Linked DNA regions of Homo sapiens: region 2 is linked to region 1. Evidence: promoter capture Hi-C in human tissues and cell types (Jung and others, 2019). All regions are on one chromosome and are shown on one strand. Each heading gives the region's core, a stretch centred on a gene start or on the middle of the fragment in contact. The rest is flanking DNA. Distances are from core to core; before and after follow the strand shown.

Evidence for each region. Contacts are between HindIII fragments. The study calls those that stand out against the background at their distance.
Region 2: a fragment that was not itself captured here is called in contact with the fragment with the promoter of LYPLA2 in region 1 in 1 of the 25 tissues and cell types used here (bladder).

The regions. Positions count from the first base shown.
Region 1 is chr1:23,786,186-23,793,038 of GRCh38, forward strand. LYPLA2 (lysophospholipase 2) reads left to right here and starts at 4,960. Exons shown (of 10, transcript NM_007260.3): 1 at 4,960-5,065; 2 at 6,472-6,575; 3 at 6,823-6,853. The coding sequence starts at 6,498. LOC105376860 (a long non-coding RNA gene) reads right to left here. Exons shown (of 2, transcript XR_947067.3): 2 at 4,429-4,605. PITHD1 (PITH domain containing 1) reads left to right here. Exons shown (of 6, transcript NM_020362.5): 5 at 130-238; 6 at 1,090-2,047. The coding sequence ends at 1,191. RefSeq lists a silencer at 5,138-5,197. The HindIII fragment of the contact is 2,550 bases long and covers 2,966-5,515 here.
Region 2 is chr1:24,025,117-24,032,255 of GRCh38, forward strand. LOC105376863 (a long non-coding RNA gene) reads left to right here. Exons shown (of 3, transcript XR_947072.3): 3 at 3,762-3,859. Among named protein-coding and RNA genes, the nearest start is that of MYOM3-AS1, 38 kb to the right of the region's middle. The HindIII fragment of the contact is 4,536 bases long and covers 1-3,868 here.

The sequences.
Region 1 (6,853 bases), core at 3,710-6,209:
GGAAGAACTCAGGAGCTCTGACTTTGCCTGGCTTTTACAAGCTGGAGCTGAATTGTTGTTTCACATGGTGGTGAGATACTCATTGAACTATAATTCATACCTTCTTTCCCTATTCCTGTCATCCTCTAGAATTTCTCGTTTTTCAAATGTCTATCATCTCTCAATTCATATTTCAAAAAACTTCGGAGCAGATACGACAAAGGTCTTTTATATTGGCCTGAGAGGAGAGTGGACTGAGGTAAGATGGGGTTGGAAAGGTTTTCCCCTCATGTCTACATATCTGCACACTGTGGTGATGGGAGCTTCCAGGGAAGGGAAAAGAGCAAGTGTCATAATTACTCCCAGTTTATTATTTTTCTTGGTTTTATCAGTATAAACTTTTCGTCTCATTTGAGAAACTACAGGTATTTTTAAGGGGGTTGAAACTGTTATTTTTATATAAATAATATATATAATATATATATATATATCTCAGCTCACTGCGACCTCCGCCTCCCAGGTTCAAGTGATTCTCCTGCCTCAGCCCCCCAAGTAGCTGGGATTACAGGTGCCCACTCCCACGCCTGGCTAATTTTTTTGTATTTTTAGTAGAGACAGGGTTTCACCATGTTGGCCAGGCTGGTCTCGAACTCCTGACCTCAGGTGATCTGCCCATCTCAGCCTCCCAAAATGTTGGGATTACAGGTGTGAGCCACCTTGCCCAGCCTGAAATTGTCATTTATATTAATTCACAGTTTTCTACTTTCAAATGCTTTCATTGAGTATTTTTGATAATCTTTTCTATTCATGAACCAGGGATAAGATAATACCATAGACAAGTTCCTATTCTCATGGTACCCCCATTATAGTAGGGAGACTGAATCTTCAAAGTTACAGGGTGAATCAATGATAATGATCTTTGCAGCTTTCTGGAGTTAAAAAGTATCAAAATTGGGAGATATTAGATGATGACATCTAAGTATTAAAATAAGGAGATATTAAATGATGACTCCTAGAAATGAACCTGAATAAGGACTACCGCAATGTGTGTGGTGTGGGAAAGGACAGTTCTTTTAATGGCTGGCTGACCCAGCCTCAATTTTCTTGCAGCTTCGCCGACACGAGGTGACCATCTGCAATTACGAAGCATCTGCCAACCCAGCAGACCATAGGGTCCATCAGGTTACCCCACAGACACACTTTATTTCCTAAGGGCTGGCCAAGGCTCCCATAGAGGCGCTGTGTCAGTGAAGATGTACGACTACCTGTTGGGAAGGACAAAGGGATGAGGCTCCAGAGAGAGTTGGCTGCCACAGCCTCTGCCAAGCTTTGTCTTTGGGGCTTGCTGCAGAAACCTGGCCTACGGAAGATACGACACCACTGGGAGGGTTGTGTAGGTGCCAGGGGACCATCGTGGTTCTCTAGGGCGCTGTGGAAATTGGGTCTTGGGCTGGGTGGCATCTGGCAGTCATGGGTAACACTTGCTTTTCCAGTTAATGTGGCCATGTGATTCCAAGTGTCATGTTGCTTTGTGGCAAGATTGTTGTGTGACTTGTTTTTTTGTTTTTGTTTTTGTTTTTTTAAAGGAAACTATTTGTGGGCTATAGGAAACTTTCTGATGCCTCCGGATTGTGTTAGTAGTAGCCATCAGGAGGGTCTCCAACTAAAACACTTGTTCCTGCTTGCTCCTTTCCCCTCTCATTGTTCAGCATTCTTGTCAAGTTGCCCAGCTTGGAGTTGTCTGTCACGCACATGTGTCCTGTGGTTATAGCTAGAAGGACAGGAGTCTCCTGCTGATGCGTGATAGCTTAAGCTTGGGGAGAAGGTCTTTTCCACTGCCTAGCTAAGCAGTCTGGGGAGAGCATGGGGATCATTTCTATGTGTGTGGGTAATCTGGTCAGTAAGATTGAGACTTAGTTAAGATTCCCCTTGGAAATTCCTTAATGTTTATTAGCTTCTAACTAGTGTTGTAAGTCCGATGCCAGAATTTGGAGATTTGAGTTCTTCTTTTCATGGCTTTTATTCACTGTGACTAATAAGCTTCCTAATAAATCCTTGCCAGACTTAATGTTTGTATTTTCTTTTGAGTTCTTGATAGCCACTGATGCAACTTTCATTTCATGGGGAACTGTACTGAACTTTGAAATTTTTTGTTGTTGTTTTGGACTAGGTAGATTATAGGAAGTGCCACAATTAAATCAAGACTGGAGCCGGGCGCGGTGGCTCACGCCTGTAATCCCAGCACTTTGGGAGGCCGAGGTGGGCGGATCACGAGGTCAGGAGATCGAGACCACGGTGAAACCGTCTCTACCAAAAATACAAAAAATTAGCCGGGTGCGGTGGCGGGAGCCTGTAGTCCCAGCTACTCAGGAGGCTGAGGCAGGAGAATGGCATGAACCCGGGAAGCGGAGCTTGCAGTGACCTGAGATTGCACCACTGCACTCCAGCCTGGGTGACAGAGTGAGACTCCGTCTCAAAAAAAAAAAAAAAAAAAATCAAGACTGGATCAGTTTCTCCAGGAATGGTCAAGCTTAATTTTGTACAGTAGGCCAAAAACACTCCTACACCCATATATAGTAAAGAAGAAGGTGGGGTTGAAAACCTGTATTTCACAGAAATTAACTGGGCATGGTGGCGTGCACCTGTAGTCCCAGCCACTTGGGAGGCTGAGGTGGGAGGATCACTGGAGCCCAGGAGGTCGAGGCTACAGTAAGCCATGATTGCGCCACTGCACCCCAGCCTGAGGCAACAGAGTGAGACCTTGTCTCAAAACAACAACAACAAAACCCTATATTTCATTTTGCACAAAAGGAAGTGATTTGTAGAATGACATTTACAAAAATAAGGGAGAACAGATTTTGGAGCTCATCAGAAGAAATGAGGGTGAGGAAAGTAATTGAGCAGCTCATGTGGTCTCCAGGTAGACCAAAGACTTTGGACTTAAATTTTGAAAGTCAGTTTAGCAATTGAAGAGAATGTAAGTATCTAAAAAGGGGATTTGATATGGTCAGTATTCTCTCCCTTGCAGAAAACAGGAACAGGTAATAAAGGGAATTAGTGTTGAATCTGATCCTTTTGGGAGAATTCCTCTGAGGCATTGGCCCATGCTGTTGTTTGGAGGATATAGCCACTGTTTCTCCAGCCTGTCCTAGGAAAGGTCTGCTACCACCAAACCTTGTTGGCCCTCAAAATTTCTAAAATGCAGCCTGAAATAAACCAGAATGCAAATGCTGTTCTTGAAAAGCATGAAGGGTCCTATTCACTCAGCCACAGCCTCTTTATTTCAGTTGGATCATTTTTTGGAGTTAAAAGAAGGGCTATGTTTAAATTTGGAGTAGGGGGAAAAATAAAGTTAAAAATCTTAGAGCAGACTAGCCCTTCACTAATTCCACTAATTAAAGCATTAATCACAGCTCCTGGGACTGAGCCTCTGAATTTGAAGCTTCACTCTGAAGAATTTGTTTTAAGTGTCATGGTGTCTCAGGTGATCGAGGTTGCAGGAGGAACTGTTCATTCTTCCATAAGTGGGGACATTACCCTCCATTTTCTTTTGACATTCAGTCCTGGGTCCTTGGCTTGTGGTGGTCCCATAGGCTCAAAGGTTTCCTGCCCCGAATCCTGGTATTGTAGGCTCCCTGACCTGTTGAGTACTTAGGACCAAAGTGCCTCTGGGCCTGGGGGAAAGTGCTTTGTTGAGCTTCCAACTTTGTACTGTTTTCTTTTTCTTTTCTTTCTTTTTTTTTTTTTTTTTTTTTTGAGACAGAGTCTCGCTTTGTTGCCCAGGCTGGAGTGTAGTGGCACTATCTTGGCTCACTGCAAGCTCCGCCTCCCGGGTTCACGCCATTCTCCTGCCTCAGCCTCCCCCCGAGTAGCTAGGACTACAGGCGCCCGCCACAGCGCCAGGCTAATTTTTTGTATTTTTAGTAGAGACAGGGTTTCACCGTGTTAGCCAGGATGGTCTCGATCTCCTGACCTCGTGATCCGCCCGCCTCAGCCTCCCAAAGTGCTGGGATTACAGGAGTGAGCCACCGCGCCTGGCTGTACTGTTTTCTTTCTGTTCAAAGAAAACACTAGTATAGGTTAGGCTGGGAGAGTGAGTCCTAAGCGGCTGAGGGTCAAGTGTGACTCATTTCCTATTTGCAGATCCCCACACATTCTCAGGGACATGCTCCTTCAACTCAGTTTGCCTGCCTTCTGACTTTTCTGTGGTCCCTGATACCTATTTCCACTTCAGCTTGATGGCAGCGTTTTGTGCACTGTCTGCATGACATTGCTTGTGAAGGGCAGCGCTAACACTGCCAGTGCCTGTCCAGCTCTCCTGATACGGCCTTTGTATTTTTCCTAGGTCCTTTTTTGCGTGATTAACACCTCACGCTGTGATTTTACTGTATAAACCATGTTCACACAACCTCATTTAAGCCTACCAACAAAGCTGTGAAGGAGGCAGGGTGGTTATTACCATTTTATATATCAGGAAGCAGATCCAGAGAGGCAGAATTTAAATGGAATCCCGAGGTTGCTGTTTACATGCCTTCCTTGAGCCTCAGTTTCCCCATCTTCAAGGCTGGAGAACTAGATGATCTGTAAGGTCTCTTCGGTTCAGAGTGTGTCATTCCATTCATGATCCTGGAATAGGGCATGAAAGCCAGTGGCAGACACCCGAGGCCTTAAGAGGTGTGTCCCATGAGGATGGGAAGGTGGTAAAGTTTATGCAAACAATAGTGTGAGGGATGCCTCTCCTTCCGGTCGGCCCTCCTCCAGGAGGCGCATGGGTGGTGGTAGCAAGTGGGAGTCTTGGGTGCCCTGTCTCGAATCTACAAGGTGGGAGCGGGTGAGAACCCAGCGACTGCGCGGCTGAATGACAGGGAGTAGCCCCGCCGCCTCCAACATGGCAGCTTCTATCCAGCGAAGCCGGGTCCCCGCTTCCGGGTTCCGTACTGTCGGCCAGGCTACTTCCGGCAGCGCGATGGCTGGGTTCCCGGGACTCGAACGGAAGTTCCGGCGGGGGCGGCCGAGGGGGAAGAGTGTGTCTGCGGGAGAAAGAGGAGAATCGCCCAAGCGGCCTCGGAAGTCCCAGGGAGTGGAGGTACCCAGCCGGCGGCTGCGGAGGATGGGCGTGTAGGGGGAGGTCGGCCTCGGGAGGGTCCCGGAGAGCGGGGAGGGGGAACCGTGATGGGGGGGATGGGGGTGGGGAGTGAGGTGCGAAGGCGCTGTCCAGTCTTGGGGACTTCGGGAGTGGAGCGGGGCTAGGCAAGGGGGTGTCTGAGTATAAAGAGACAGACTTCAGGGTCGGAAATAGAAGAGCCCATTGTGGGGCGGGGGCTTCCCCAGAGTCAAAGGTACAAAGCTTTATTGTGGGCAGGTGGGAGTCCTGGGTCAGGGTAGAAAATTTCACTGGGTAGGGTGACCTTTGGTCAGAACAGAAGTTCCCATTGTGGGGAGCGGGAGATCCTGGGTCAGGGTGGAAGTTCTCAAGGTGTATAGAGAGAGACAGGTCAGGGGGAAGGCACCCCTCCGAGGAGGGAGCCTGGGCGGGAGGTGCAAGTCCCCACGGTGGAGAAGGAAGGGAATCGCAGCTCAGGGCAGGAGGTGCATTCCCCATGGGAAGAGGAACCCCGGGTCACAGGTGAACGATCCCATTGTGGGGAGCTGCCCTCAGGGGTCAGAGATGGAAGGTGAGGCCAGTTGGGAGGGGTGGGCAGGCACTTGAGGCAGGTAGTGGAAGCTTCCGGCGAGTTTGGAGGACGCCGAGGATGGGGAGGGGCCAGCCAGCCTGACATTCTTTTGTGTGTTTGGGAGTCCCAGAGCGTGGTCAAGCCAGGGCTCGTTTGCAGTCAGTGGCAGCAGCAGCAGGTAGCTCCGTTTAGGGGGGGCGTGGAGCACCAGTTTGGGGGTGGGTGGAGTTCTTACGCTTTCTGGGGACATGGGCAGCCCCCTGGGGGTCTGGGAATGGATGGGCCAGAAACTGCTGTGAAGGCTGGATGGGGGCTGGGTGGGGGGAGGTTGAGATGGGGGTTGGAGGCGGCACTGAGTAGGGGATGGAAGCTCCTTTCCCTGGCACTTTTCTCTCCATTTCCCATAGGGCCCGGAGTTGGGGAGGCAGGGACCCAGGGATGATTGGAGAGGAGGGGGAAGGCACTCACCCCTGAGGAGTTAGAGGGGGAATGAAGCAGGCGTGCCGCTGCCTCCCCTCTGCCCCCTGCCCTACAGTCCCTATGCCCTGCCTCTGCCTGTCTCCAGCAAGCTCAGGTCCTGTGGTTGGGCCAGAACCAGAGACACATGTTCTGGGCCACTAGGGAGGCTGTCTCTGCCTTTCAGCCCTGGAACTGAGGCAGACTTCTTCTCCTGTGCCCTGGGACTTCTTGCTTGACTATTCTTTGTGCCCAGGACAGAACCTGGGTGCTGTGTGGGGCTGATGGCCTGGTGGCCTCTTGGGCCAGGAGTGTGTCCTGTGCCTGGTTTTGCTCTTGACCGCCGCCCCGATGTATGCAGGCCCCCGCCGTGGAGCCGTGTGGTGTATGTGTGGTAACACCATGTCTGTGCCCCTGCTCACCGATGCTGCCACCGTGTCTGGAGCTGAGCGGGAAACGGCCGCGGTAAGGGTCCCCTTTCACCCACGGCCAGACACTGTGGGAGCAGCTGGAGGACCGGCTGGAGGGGGTGTGGGAAAATGGAGGTGGCAGTGATGAGCAGGGAGTATCCTGAGGCCAGCAGGCTCGGGGTAGTAACCTGTTTGGCTGCTACCTGGGTTCCCCCAGGTCCTTGGGGGTGGGGGAGGGGTGGGCAGAAGTTGGAGGACCTAGGGGAAGCCTTCCTGTCTCCCCATTTCCCATCCTTTTCCAGGTTATTTTTTTACATGGACTTGGAGACACAG
Region 2 (7,139 bases), core at 351-2,850, 240 kb after region 1:
CGTGGTGAAACCCCGTCTCTACTAAAAATATAAAAATTAGCCGGTCATGGTGGTGGGCACCTGTAATCCCAGCTACTTGGGAGGCTGAGGCAGGAGAATCACTTGAACCCGGGAGGCGGAGGTTGCAGTGAGCCGAGATCACGCCACTGTACTCCAGCCTGGGCACTAGAGTGAGACCCTGTTTAAAAAAAAAAAAAAAAAGATTGAGTGAAAGAAGCAAGATACAAGAGAGCAATACTGAGTGATTCCTTTCATATGAAGTGTGAGAACAGGTAGAAACTAATTTGTGGTTGTGAAAATTAGAACAATGGTTGCCTCTGAAGGGGATTGACTGGTGTGTGGCATGGAGGAAACGTTTGGGTTGATTAAAATGGCCTAAATCTTGTTGAGGATATTGGTTTCACTGTTGCATATGTTTGTCAAAACTCATCAAACTGTACACTCAAGTCCTGTGCATTTTTCTGTATGTAAATTATACTTCAACCTTAATTTTAAAAGAAGCAGTGAGCCCCCAAATTTTAGATGATGAACTGGTTTGGATTGCTACCTCCTTTCCTGAAAGTCAACCGGGGAGAAACTGTGGAAGCCAGAGGGAAGCAGATTCCAGAACCAACAGAAAATCAAAATGAGGCCATCCTTCTTCTGTTTGCCTCTACTTCCTCTCTGATTGAAGCTGTCTTTTCTTTCTTCCTTTTTCTTTTTAGAGACAGAATCTTACTCTGTTGCTCAGGCTACAGTGCAGTGGCACAGACACGGTTCACGGCAGCCTCAACCTCCTGGGCTTCAGCAATCCTTTTTGCCTCAACCTCCTGAGTAGCTGGGATTACAGGTGTGCACCACCATGCCTGGCTATTTTTTTTTTTTTTTTTTTTGGAGACAGAGTCTCGCTGTCACCCAGGATGGAGTGAAGTGGCGCGATCTAGGCTCACTTCCATCTCCCGGGTTCAAGCGATTCTCACACCTCAGCCTCCTGAGTAGCTGGGACTACAGGCTTGTGCCACCATGTCTGGCTACATTTTTGTATTTTTAGTAGAGACAGGGTTTCACCATATTGTCCAGGCTGGTCTTGAACTCCTGAGCTCTGGCAATCTGCCCACCTCGGCCTCCCAAAGTGCTAGGATTACAGGCGTGAGCCACCGCGCTATTAAAAAAAAAACCATTTTTAAAATTTTTTTATTTGTAAAGACAAGATCTCTCTATGTTGCCCAGGCTAGTCTCGAACTCCTGGGCTCAAGTGATCCTCCCGCCTTGACCTCCCAAAGTGCTGGGACTATATAGGTGTGAGTCAATTCACTCAGCCAGATTGAGGCTGTCTTAAACCTGTGTCTGGGAGGTAGGTAGTTGTGCCTGGGGTAGAGGGCTGTGGTGGGGATGGTGGACGGTCTGGAAGAAAGTGTTTCTGTTTTTTTGTTTTTGTTTTTGTTTTTGTTTTGAGATGGAGTCTTGTTCTGTTGCCCAGGCTGGAGTGCAGTGGAGTGATCTCGGCTCACTGCAACCTTCGCATCCCAGGTTCAAGCTATTCTCTTGCCTCAGCCTGCTGAGTAGCTGAGATTACAGGCGCCCGCCACTATGCCTGGCTAATTTTTTTCTGTTTTTAGTAGAGATGGGGTTTCACCATGTTGGCCAGGCTGGTCTCGAACACCTGACCTTGTGATTCGCCTGCCTCAGCCTCCCAAAGTGCTGGGATTACAGGCGTGAGCCACCGCGCCCAGCTAGTTTTTAAAAATGTATTGACATATTTAGATTTTTTGGATATATTTGGAAAACTGCCTGTTTGACCAGGACCTGTTTGGTTTGGTTTGGTTCTGCCTTGCCTTTTGCTGGAGTTCTTTTAGGACAAACCTTCACTTTCTTCAGGATTAAGTATTTGTGGGGTGACTGACACTGGCAATACAAAAGCTCTGCAAGGGTGAAGCAAGCAGGAACATCTGTCACTCTTCCTTCTTCTCCAACCCCCAGGCTGTGGGATCAATGTAGCAAGACTACTTGATCTCAGGGTCTCTTCTTTCTAAGAGGTTGAGGTGGAACCTTAGGCAGTGGAGCTGCTCGGAGGAGTGGCAGGCAAAGGGAAGCAGCCACAGTTCCTGGGGTGACCTGGGGTGAAGGGGGGCTTTTGGTTCTGGGGCTCATATCCCTCTGTCTCCTTGAATTCATGAGGGCTGATCTAAATTCAGGCCTAAACTTTGACTCTTCCTCACTACTTATTTCCAGACAAATAAGCTGATAGAGGTCCAATTTGATTCTGATTATTTAGCCATAAACTGATTTTTTTTTCCATTTTATCATTCTGTTTTCCTTCTTCTTTTCCTGTGCTACATGCTTTATCTTTTTGTCCATTTATTTATTTATTTATTAGAGATGGAGTCTTGCTCTGTCACCCAGGCTGGAGGGCAGTGGTGCTATCTCGGTTCGCTGCAACCTCCGCCTCCCTGGTTCAAGCAATTCCCCTGCCTCAGCCTCTCGAGTAGCTGGGATTACAGTCGCATGCCAACAGGTCTGGTTAATTTTTTTTGCATTTTTAGTAGAGATGGGGTTTCACCATGTTGGCCAGACTAGTCTCAAACTCTTGACTTCAGGCAGTCCCCCTGCCTCGGCCTCCCAAAGTACTGGGATTACAGGCGTGAGTTACGGTGCCCGGCCTTTTTTTGTCCTTTAAAACTGTTCCTGGCCGGGTACAGTAGCTCATGCCTATAATCCCAGTGCTTTGCGAAGCTGAAGCCAGAGGATCATTTGAGGCCAGGAGTTCAAGACCAGCTTGGGCAACACAGTGAGACTCTGTCTCTACAAAATTAATAATAAAATTAGCCGGGTGTGATGGTACCCGCTTATAGCTTCTTCAGGAGGCTGAGGTGGGAGGATTGCTTGAGCCTAGGAGTTCAAGGGTGCAGTGAGCCATGATTGTGCCACTGCACTCCAGGCTGGGTGACAGAGTGAGATCTCCATCTGTTCCCACTGTGGCAATCTCCTCCACAAAGTAAATATTATTTCTATGTTTGTTTCTTATACAATTGTTTGCATGTTCAGAATTCTCCCTGGCTTTATTCTTCTTTGGCTACTATGGGGTTGATAATATGTGAAACATTACTTGGACACAAGAACAGCAACATTGTTGAATTGTATGTAGTTCACAAAGACCATTCATTATAGCTAATGCCATCTGTTGGTGGAGGGAAGAGTTGACATTCTTTTTTTCTGTGACTGTAGACATTGAAATGTAAGGGGAGAAGCTTGTCTATACATGTTATTCAGAGGCTTTAAAAATAATTCGCTGTATATAGTAGATACTTTTCCTTGTAAATATATAAATAGATCTATTTTATTTATTTATTTTTTGAGATGGAGTCTCGCTCTGTCACCCAGGCTGGAGTGCAATGGCTCGATCTCAGCTCACTGTAACCTCCGCCTCCCAGGTTCAAGTGATTCTCCCTGCCTCAGCCTCCAGAATAGCTGGGATTACAGGTGTGCGCCACCACACTTGGCTAATTTTCGTACTTTTAGTAGAGACGGGGTTTTGCCATGTTGGCCAGGCTGGTCTTGAATTCCTGACCTCAGGTGATCCCCCTGCCTTGGCCTCCCAAAGTGCTGGGATTACAGGCATGAGCCACCGCTCATGGCCTAGATCTATTTTATTTTAAAATATCTTTGTACTGTTCCATAGTATGGGTGTACCATAATTTATTCAACCATTCCCCAATTGATGGGCATTTAGGTGGTTCCTATATTTTATTTTTTTGAAATGGAGTTTTGCTCTTGTTGCCCAGGCTGGAGTGCAATGGAGTGATCTCAGCTCACTGCAACCTCTGCCTCCTGAGTTCAAGCGATTCTCCTGCATCAGCCTCCCGAGTATCTGGGATTACAGGTATGCGCCACCAGTCCCGGCTACTTTTTGTATTTTTAGTATAGATGGGGTTTCACCATGTTGGTCAGGCTGGTCTCGAACTCTTGACCTCAGGTGATCCACCTGCCTCAGCCTCCCAAAGTGCTGGGATTACAGATGTGAGCCACCACGCCTGGCCTTATTTTTTATTTATTTTTTTGAGACAGAGTTTTGCTCTCGTTGCCCAGGCTGGCATGCAGAGGCATGATCTTGGCTCACTGCAACCTCTGCCTTCTGGTTTCAAGCGATTCTCCTGCCTCAGCCTCCCGAGTAGTTGGGATTATAGGCGCCTGCCACCACGCCCAGCTAATTTTTGTATTTTCAGTAGAGGTGGGGTTTCCCCATGTTGGCCAGGCTGGTCTCGAACTCCTGACCTTGTGATCCGCCCGCCTTGGCTTCCCAAAGTGCTGGAATTACAGGTGTGAGCCACCACGCCCGGCCTTTTTTTTTTTTTTTTTTTTTTTTTAAGTAGAGGTGGGTTTTCACCATGTCGTCCAGGCTGGTCTCAAATGCCTGACCTTGTGATCCGCCTGGCTTATCTCAAATGCCTGACCTCAGGTAATTTGCCCACCTCAGCCTCCCAAAGTGCTGGGACTGCAGGCATGAGCCATGGCACCCAGCCCTAAATAAAGCTTTTTGTTTGTTTTTTTGAAACAGAGTCTCGCTCTGAGACCCAGGCTGGAATGCAGTGGCACGATCTCAGCTCACTGCAACCTCTGCCTCCCAGGTTCAAGTGATTCTCCTGCCTCAGCTTCCCGAGTAGCTGGGACTACAGGCATGTGCCACCACACCTGGCTTATTTTCAAATTTTTGTTTATTTTTTTTTTTGAGTCAGGATCTTGCTCTATTGCTCAAGCTGGAGTGCAGTGGCATGATCATAGCCCACTTCAGCCTTGACCTCTGGGCTCTGTGATCCTCCTACCTCAGCCTCCCAAGTAGCTAGACTACAGGTGTGCACCACCATCCCTAGTTAATTTTTTTTTTTGTAGCGACGTCATCTTGCTATGTTGCCCAGGCTGATTTCAAATTCCCAGGCTCAAGTGATCCTCCCACCTCAGCCTCCCAAAATGTTGGGATTATGGGCATGAGCCACTGTGCCTGGCTTAGATTTTTTTTACTACAGATAATCTCAGAAATTACATATCTTTAGGTTTAAATATATATTTCTTTGATTTTCAATAAGCATATAAAAAGCATCTTTTTATAGGTTTACTCATCATGTCAATAAATAGATTTCTGCTTCATAATTTTTTTTTTTTTTTTGAGACAGAGTCTTGCTCTGTCACCTAGGCTGGAGTGCAATGGCACAATCTTAGCTCACTGCAACCTCCACCTCCTGGGTTTAAGTGATTCTCCTGCCTCAACCTTCTTAGTAGCTGGGATTACAGGTGCACGCCACCACGTGTGGTTAATTTATGTATTTTTAGTAGAGATGAGGTTTCACCATTTTGGCTAGGCTGTTCTTGAACTCCTGACCTCAAGTGATCCACCTGCCTTGCCCTCCCAAAATGCTGGGATTACAGACGTGAGCCACAGTGCCTGGCCTTGCTTCATGATTTTTTAGTGCTTATATAATATTATAAGATGTGGTGGTGTAACAGTTTGCCCAGATAACCTCTAAAGTTGGATATTTGTGTCGTTTCTGTAGTGGCAAACTCAAATGTTCTTTATATCTCACATGTGGGCTTTATTGCAGCAAGGTTGCAGGAGTGAAGCAATAATCAAAATAAACCAGAGATTTCCTGAATAAACCTGTGTCTTCAGACAGTGGACAGTTTTCTTTTCTTTTCTTTTCTTTCTTTTTTTGAGATAGAGTTTCACTCTTGTTGTTCAGGCTGGAGTGCAATGGTGTGATCTCAGCTCACTGCAACTTCCGTCTCCCAGGTTCAAGTGACTCTCCTGTCTCAGCCTCCCGAGTAGCTGGGATTACAGGCGTCCACCACCACGCCCAGCTAATTTTTCAAAATATTTTTAGTAGAGATGGGAGTTCATCATGTCGGCCAGGCTGGTCTCGAACTCCTGACCTCAAGTGATCGCCCACCTCTGCCTCCCAAAGTGCTAGTATTACAGGCATGAGCCACTGTGCCCGGCCGACAGTTTTCTATAATCATCAGCCACTTCCAGTTTTATAACATCACTCATCATGGTGGCTTCAAGATTCGTGACATAAGGCATTTTTCTCTGGTTAAATTAAGGTGGGGAAACTTGTTTAGCTGACCAGCTGCTTGAAAAATATCTTACAACTCATGAGCTGGCTTTTGTCATTTTTTTTTTTTTTTTTTTTTTGTGGCAAAGGATCACACGTAACAGAACTCTTTTTGTTTTAATCATTTTTAAGTGTGCAGTTCAATGATGTTAGTTACATGCACAATATTGTGTAACCATCACCACTATTTCCAAAATCCTTTTTTTTTATTTTTTATTTTTTAAATTTTATTATTATTTTTTTTTTATTGATCATTCTTGGGTGTTTCTTGCAGAGGGGGATTTGGCAGGGTCACAGGACAATAGTGGAGGGAAGGTCAGCAGATAAACAAGTGAACAAAGGTCTCTGGTTTTCCTAGGCAGAGGACCCTGCGGCCTTCCGCAGTGTTTGTGTCCCTGGGTACTTGAGATTAGGGAGTGGTGATGACTCTTAAGGAGCATGCTGCCTTCAAGCATCTGTTTAACAAAGCACATCTTGCACCGCCCTTAATCCATTTAACCCTGAGTGGACACAGCACATGTTTCAGAGAGCACAGGGTTGGGGATAAGGTCACAGATCAACAGGATCCCACGGGAGAAGAAGTTTTCTTAGTACAGAACAAAATGAAAAGTCTCCCATGTCTACTTCTTTCTACACAGACACGGCAACCATCCGATTTCTCAATCTTTTCCCCACCTTTCCCGCCTTTCTATTCCACAAAGCCGCCATTGTCATCCTGGCCCGTTCTCAATGAGCTGTTGGGCACACCTCCCAGATGGGGTGGTGGCCGGGCAGAGGGGCTCCTCACTTCCCAGTAGGGGCGGCCGGGCAGAGGCGCCCCTCACCTCCCGGACGGGGCGGCTGGCCGGGCGGGGGGCTGACCCCCCCACCTCCCTCCCGGACGGGGCGGCTGCCGGGCGGAGACGCTCCTCACTTCCCAGACAGGGTGGCTGCCGGGCGGAGGGGCTCCTCACTTCTCAGACAGGGCGGTTGCCAGGCAGAGGGTCTCCTCACTTCTCAGACGGGGCGGCCGGGGAGAGACGCTCCTCACATCCCGGACGGGGCGACAGGGCAGAG